2 separate regions of the Homo sapiens genome follow, and region 1 is linked to region 2. The links are contacts of gene promoters, found by promoter capture Hi-C in human tissues and cell types (Jung and others, 2019). All regions are on one chromosome and are shown on one strand. Each heading gives the region's core, a stretch centred on a gene start or on the middle of the fragment in contact. The rest is flanking DNA. Distances are from core to core; before and after follow the strand shown. Region 1 overlaps ATP8B4 (ATPase phospholipid transporting 8B4 (putative)). Region 2 holds the start of FGF7 (fibroblast growth factor 7).

Evidence for each region. Contacts are between HindIII fragments. The study calls those that stand out against the background at their distance.
Region 1: a contact is called between a fragment that was not itself captured here and the fragment with the promoter of FGF7 in region 2, in 1 of the 25 tissues and cell types used here (dorsolateral prefrontal cortex).

The regions. Positions count from the first base shown.
Region 1 is chr15:49,923,989-49,927,468 of GRCh38, reverse strand. The region is part of intron 16 of ATP8B4 (ATPase phospholipid transporting 8B4 (putative)); the gene reads left to right. Among named protein-coding and RNA genes, the nearest start is that of ATP8B4, 190 kb to the left of the region's middle. The HindIII fragment of the contact is 3,396 bases long and covers 1-3,004 here.
Region 2 is chr15:49,421,697-49,424,798 of GRCh38, reverse strand. FGF7 (fibroblast growth factor 7) reads right to left here and starts at 1,557. Exons shown (of 4, transcript NM_002009.4): 1 at 1,359-1,557; 2 at 216-767. The coding sequence starts at 501. The region is part of intron 11 of FAM227B (family with sequence similarity 227 member B); the gene reads left to right. The HindIII fragment of the contact is 10,247 bases long and covers 1-3,102 here.

The DNA of each region.
Region 1 (3,480 bases), core at 57-2,556, 500 kb before region 2:
GGCAGAAAAGTCTTTGCATGATAACAAGGCAGAAAACAATCCTGGTCTCATGATCGTCACATGGGTTGGTCTGTAGGAACAACACCCTGATGCAAAGGCTCAGGCATTGCTTCTGTTGCTGCTGATCCTCCCCTTTCTCCTCCTCCCTCTTCTGCTTCCTTGTTTTTGGGTGGCAGCCATTATTCACTAAATCATCAATGTATAATTTCAATACCAGTAGTACTTTCATTCTGAAGAAAGAGCCCTGATTTAAGTCAGAAGTATCTACATAAAAATTGATTTCTATAAAGGATTTTTTTCCAGAGGGAACAGAATATACTATATTAGTAAAAAATATAAATGACATTATATAGTTTTGGAAGGACCAATTCTACTAATTCTGTAAATAGAAATACAGAGATAAAATTCAGAGGTGGCTATTAACAGGGGCAAGTGGCAGATAACCATTAAAGAAGAAGAAATTACAAGAAGCTTCTTGGAAGGCTCTTACGAGATCTTTAGATAAAAGTTGCTCAACTCTAAACTTTTTCAAGATTATCAAAGTACAAATCACACTGTCATGTGACAGGCATTTCTCTGTGTAGATGTATGAACAGCGGCGATATGGCAAAATAGAATTATTTACCACCCTTCACAGTGCTGCTGTTGCATCTAACTGGAAGCCATTTGTGACATTTTTTCTTTCCTTTATGTCACAAAGGCATAGCTTCTGCTTTCAATAAATTGTGCACAATTTTGGTTCATCTTAATTAAGTAAATATTGATTTAAGTTCCCCATATGTTCCAGGGCCTTCAAGCTAAGGGAGAATGTGAAAAGTTGAAAGGTAGTTCTATGTGGCTGCCTCCAAGAGAACATGGTAAAACAGACTGGATAGTGCAGCTGTTAATAAGCTCTATATGTCATGTCAAGGAGTCCAAACTTAATAGAAGGGAGAGGGAAGCTATTGCAGGATTCTAAGCAGCAGCATGAAGATGACTGTAACTGGAATATACAGAAGAGTCTGGAAGGAAGCAGTACTGGAATGGGTAAAACCAGTTAGGTTAAAGTGATTTTCTAGGCAAGAGAGAAGTGGCAAGAGAAATCCGTAGCTTCCCTTAGATGTATGGTTGGTGAAGGGAGAACTGTGAGTGATGCCTAGATTTCTGATTTGGGAGACTGAATGGATGGTGAAGCTGATTACTAAGACTGGGGATATAAGAGGAGTAGCTAATTATTGGAGGAGGGTAATATGTCCAGTATGAGTTTGGTGTGCTTGAGCATATCCAAGAGATTTTCAACTGGTAGTCGGATGTGCAGGTCAGAATGGAGTGCTAGAGATGGATTGGACAGGAGATACACATTTGAAAACAGCCTGGTGTTGGAACCTGAAGCCATAGAAATGATGCAGTTGCCCAGGGACAGTATGAAGGATGGGAAGATAAAAAAAAGACCCCAAGTAAATCTCTGAAGAACACTAATATTTAAATGGAAAGCATTGGGAGAAGATTTTATAACCTAAAAACTGTAACCTTTGTCCAAGTTCTGGCCATATGTTATCGTGACCATTTAAAACTATGTCCTTTTTAGTTTATTTAAGAAATACTAACTTCTGAAATGACTTAGATTTTATTAACTTTGAACAGAAACGACCAGAAGGCTTGGAAGAAAAGAGATATAAAACTTGCTGCTAAAGCAAATGTTTAATGAGTAAACATAAGCAGGATTCCATGAAATTGGATTTCCACAAAATCAAATTTAAAGGGACAAATACTAGGTTAAGGGAAAGTATCAGGGATGGAAAGTATTTATTGAATCAGAAAATTGTACTGCTGCAAAGGACCTTTGAAGTTAGATTGTTTAAACATCTCCTTTTTACATGTAGAAACTAAGATACAGTGATGGTAAGGGATTTACACAAATCACAATCAGTTTGTGATTCTTCCAGACCAGTGATTCTAAATGTGTGGTCCAGGGAACCTTAGGGAACTTTGTGAGTTTTTCAGAGGATGCACAAGGACAAAAGTATTTTCATTATAATATCACTATTATTTATCTTTTTCATTCTTTTTCTCATGAGTATACCATGGAGTTTTGCAGAAGCCACGTGACATGTGATGTCACAACAGAATGAATGCAGAAACAGATATGGGAATCCAACCCTCTTTTATTAAACTAGATGTTACAAAGATCTGTAATCATGTAAAATAATGCCAATCTCCAAACTAATATTTTTTGGAAAATATAGTTTTTTTATAGAAATGTTATTTATGCTTATATGTTAGATTTACAATAATAATAATTATAGTAACTAGTGTTATAAAACTGATATAATAAAATTTCTCATTTTTAATTTCTAATATGGATATTGATAGATAACATTCACTTAAAAAAACTTTTTAGAATCCTCACTCAGCATTGAAAAATTATAAAGAAGGTCCTGAGACCATAAGTTAGAGAACTAATGTCCTAGTCTAGAATACAAAATACAGGCAAATGTAGGTTATTCATCGTTTGCCTTTATACCTCTGGTGTTGGAAGGGAGAAAATATAAGGGAAATTATTCAATTGGATTATTGTACAAGAAAATCAAGAGAGAGTCTTTCCTAGGATTAAGTTTCCCCCCCTGGTTTAACAATTAGATAAATTGCATATGTTTTTCTCTTTCTTTTTCCCCAATGTAGGGGTTAGAGCTAGAGTACAAGAAAACCCACATGAGTTCTGGCAATTAGGCAAGCTAACCAAGGGTCTTAAAACAGAAGACAAGACCTAGACAAGGCCCAGTCCTAAAAAGCTTCCAGGGTATGTTATTAGATCTATGTAAGCCAGGAGGAAACTAGAATAGATAAGTGTAGACTGGGGTAGAGGGGAGGGTAACATTGTATTTTGGTTTTTATATTTTTTTAAATTAAGCACTAAATTTTGTACGCCATTTTCTTTGGCATTACATTAACAGTAAATAATAGTAAACATTTATGTTAACCTTTTTTTGAGGCATTCTCTTTGTAGATAAATGGGATAATTGAGTAGAAAGCATGTAATGATCTTTGACTGAACTGATGAAGCCTATGAGGGCAAGAGTATTCAGATTATGAAGTTGTGACAAAGGCAGTTGTCTTAAGTTGTAGGCAGTTCTGGGAAGAAATACCCAGCCATGTCATTCATTCATTCAACAAATAATTATTAATTGCCTACTATGTGTCAAGCTGTACAACTAAACCTAAAAAGTTAGGCCAAGTGTTCTGTGGTTTGAAAGAAAGCTTTGTCTAACAGCAATATGCTGGGGGTTGTCGGTGGGAATGGAGTTGAGGGTAGCCTAGGAAGGGCTGTCAGTCTCAAACCTGTGGGGCAGGTTAAAAACACAGTACTACCGATATAGACTTCCAGTGGGAATGAGGTGGAAACTTTATTTTTAAAAGCCCCTCTGTGAAGTGTGTTTTCAGCCAGAATTGTTACCCAGGAACGAACCACCAAGAATTAATGGACTTTTCCGGAGTAAAAGG
Region 2 (3,102 bases), core at 308-2,807:
GATTATCAGGTCCAACTATAATGTAAGTAGATTTGCCCTGTTAAAAGAGATATTTTTAGGGGCATAGTTCAACATAGTTCAATTTAGAGAAATTAGGTGACATTTTATTTAATTTTTTTTCCAAGAAGCAAAAGGAAGATGAGAAAACATATCACCTGAAAATTGATCCATTAACAGATTGCTAAGGTTCATGAGCAGTACTTAAAATTACTTACTGTAATTATTCTTCATCTCTTGGGTCCCTTTTACTTTGCCTCTTTTATCGATCCTCAGGTACCACTGTGTTCGACAGAAGAGTCTTCTCACTCTTATATCCCCTCCTTCCATGTAATCATAACTTCTTGTGTGTCGCTCAGGGCTGGAACAGTTCACATTTGTAGCCATTTGCTCTGGAGTCATGTCATTGCAAGCTAAAGATATAGTACCCACTAGACAGATAATGTGAAAGCATGATCTGTAGAGCAAAGTTGGCAGGATCCATGTCAGTATCCATTTGTGCATTATAGTGTAGTGCTCCGGGTGTTCATGAATAACATAATGAAAATGAATCTTGAGTTGATTGTTACTCCTAGGTCATTGACCTCTTCCTATCTGTGAATTGTAGATTGATTTAAGAAAGAGTAGTTGCTCTTTCCAAATTGTTAGCCTTATCCTTTTAGTTCCTGATAACAACACAGGATTCCTCCTTAAATAACTCTGTTGATAAATCCTCATAAAAACAGTTCGTAGTAAGTTCAGTTGCTGTGACGCTGTTTGCTATTTGACTTCTGTTTGCAATGAGAGATTAAGAATAGGGAGGGGAGGAGAGAGGAAGATAAAAAATTGTATGTGTAAATTTTAGTGGGTAAGTAGTAGCATTAGAATACAGTATAGGTTATTCTTTGAAGATACATTTAAAACAGCCTTCACAGAGGATGTCAAAATCTTTACCACTTTATGTGTAGATTTATAAAATTTATGCATGAGTAGAGACAAAACAGAATATGACTGTACCATTCATTCCAATTGCTATTTTGTGAGAACCATACTGCACTCAGAACTATTGATTTAAATTAAGTTTTTACAATTACTGCTAACAAAGTGTAACTGCTTTCTCCCTAGACTTCTTTATTATATGCTTTTACATTTGTGGTTAATCAATTATTTTCTCCTGAACTGCCCAGGTTTTTTAAGTTAAATGTCAGGATTGCTCTGGAGAACTTCAACCTTATCTTTATGTTCTACAGCATAATTACTATAGTTACATGGCTCAAAAATCTTGTAACTTTACTTTCCTGCTCAGTACTAAAATCAGAAAAAGAGATAAACTTTTAGAAAACATTCAGCATTGTTTTAAAAGACAAATAACAGTAACTTACTTGTTTTGTTGCTAACAGCTGGATATATAAGAATTCCATGTCTGTTGTCTGCCTGGTGCAACTTGAGCCTTTCTACTGTAGCTACAAACTATTTCTCAGCTGAAAAGTTCTCCAGCAGAATCATAATTGTTTCCATAAATCAACAGGCAGAAGGATTTTCTCTCTGTGTGTGAGCGCGTGTGTGCTTGTGTGTGTGTGTGAGCCTTTTATTCAGGGCTTTTCGATAAATACCTTTGCTGACCTCATTGGAAGCAATTAAAACTTAGCCAGTGAGCTGTTAGTTGAATACAACAGCGAGAATAAAAGGAGGCTTGTATAGTATTCAATGGTCATGAGAGGGAGCTATGAACATGTTTTATGCTTAAATCTACAAGTGGGTACCTACTTTGTAGAAACAGATCTCTGGTTCTGAAGCAGTTAGAAGGGGAAAGGGAATTTTTTAAACCTTCTTTGCAATATAGCAGTTGTATTATACTTGGAAAATTATTCATTTGAACATATATATAGGGTTTTTTAATACTTAGAAAATCTTTTCCATAGCTTTATGATACATGCATTTCTTCAATTACTTCTTTGTGCTCAGAATGTTAGAACAAAACTGGTATGTGTTAACTAACATATGAGTGCCTTAAAGCACTGTGTAGATAAGTTGAATATTATCACATCATACAGAGACAATTCATTGAATATGAATATAAGTACAATTTTTATGTATTATATTCCTAGGCTGAAAGTGAGAAGATCTAGATTCTTATTTGTGTTGGACCACTAATGACCAGTATGACTTCGGGCAAGTTACCTGCTGTTCCAGAGTCTCAGCTGCTACATTTGTAAAATTGGTGTATTGGTCTAATGCCTCTATGGTGCTTTACAATTCTGTGATCTGTGACTTATACTCACTACTAATATAAGGAACAGGGCACCTACTTTTAAAAGCTGTTATTCTTTAAAAAGGAGGAAATGGTTTCACATTGATTATCAGTGTTTGATTTTTGCCTCAATAAGAATATTGGAACAATAAATGTTAATTTAGAGATGGAATTATAATATGTATTGCTAAGGTAAATAAGTGAAAGCTATTTTACTTTCCAGCATGAGTTCTCTCCTTTACTTCCTGTTCTGTTATACATGAAGTAGTGCTCAAGTGTTGTATTAGATTCTTGGTGTAGAATAATTGTGTTGTCTATCTAAATCAGTATTAAGAAAGTATATTAAAATTATCTTTTTCATGTTATATACTCCTCAAAACACACACGCGTGCACGCGCGCGCGCGCGCACACACACACACACACACTCTCTCTCTCTCTCTCTCTCTCTCTATGTGAAATGCACTACTTTACCACCAGGTGGTGCATGTAGACCAAATAGGAAAAGGAAATTAAATCTACTCAACTGGATTATAGTTTATGTGATTTCTCTTTGTATCTGTCCCTTTAGGGAACAGAATGAAGAGCACAGAATAGTTCAGATGTACCCAGTTACTCTTCATATGCCAAATGTTGAATGTTCCACATTTATTAAAGCAGAGGGGGACAGACTCTTTGATCATTGCATCTGTTGAAAGCTAGAAAGCTGAAAACATCCTATCATGTATTCTCTAAAAGGAGGAAGAGAAGGAGGAAAGAAAATATAATGTTATTGTGTTCTGAATCACACTCCGCTAGTTTGGGAGGTAACAATAATGAGCAGGCTCAGAATTCCTAGGACTTAGATATTGCTTCTAAAGAAATAAAAGTTATCAAT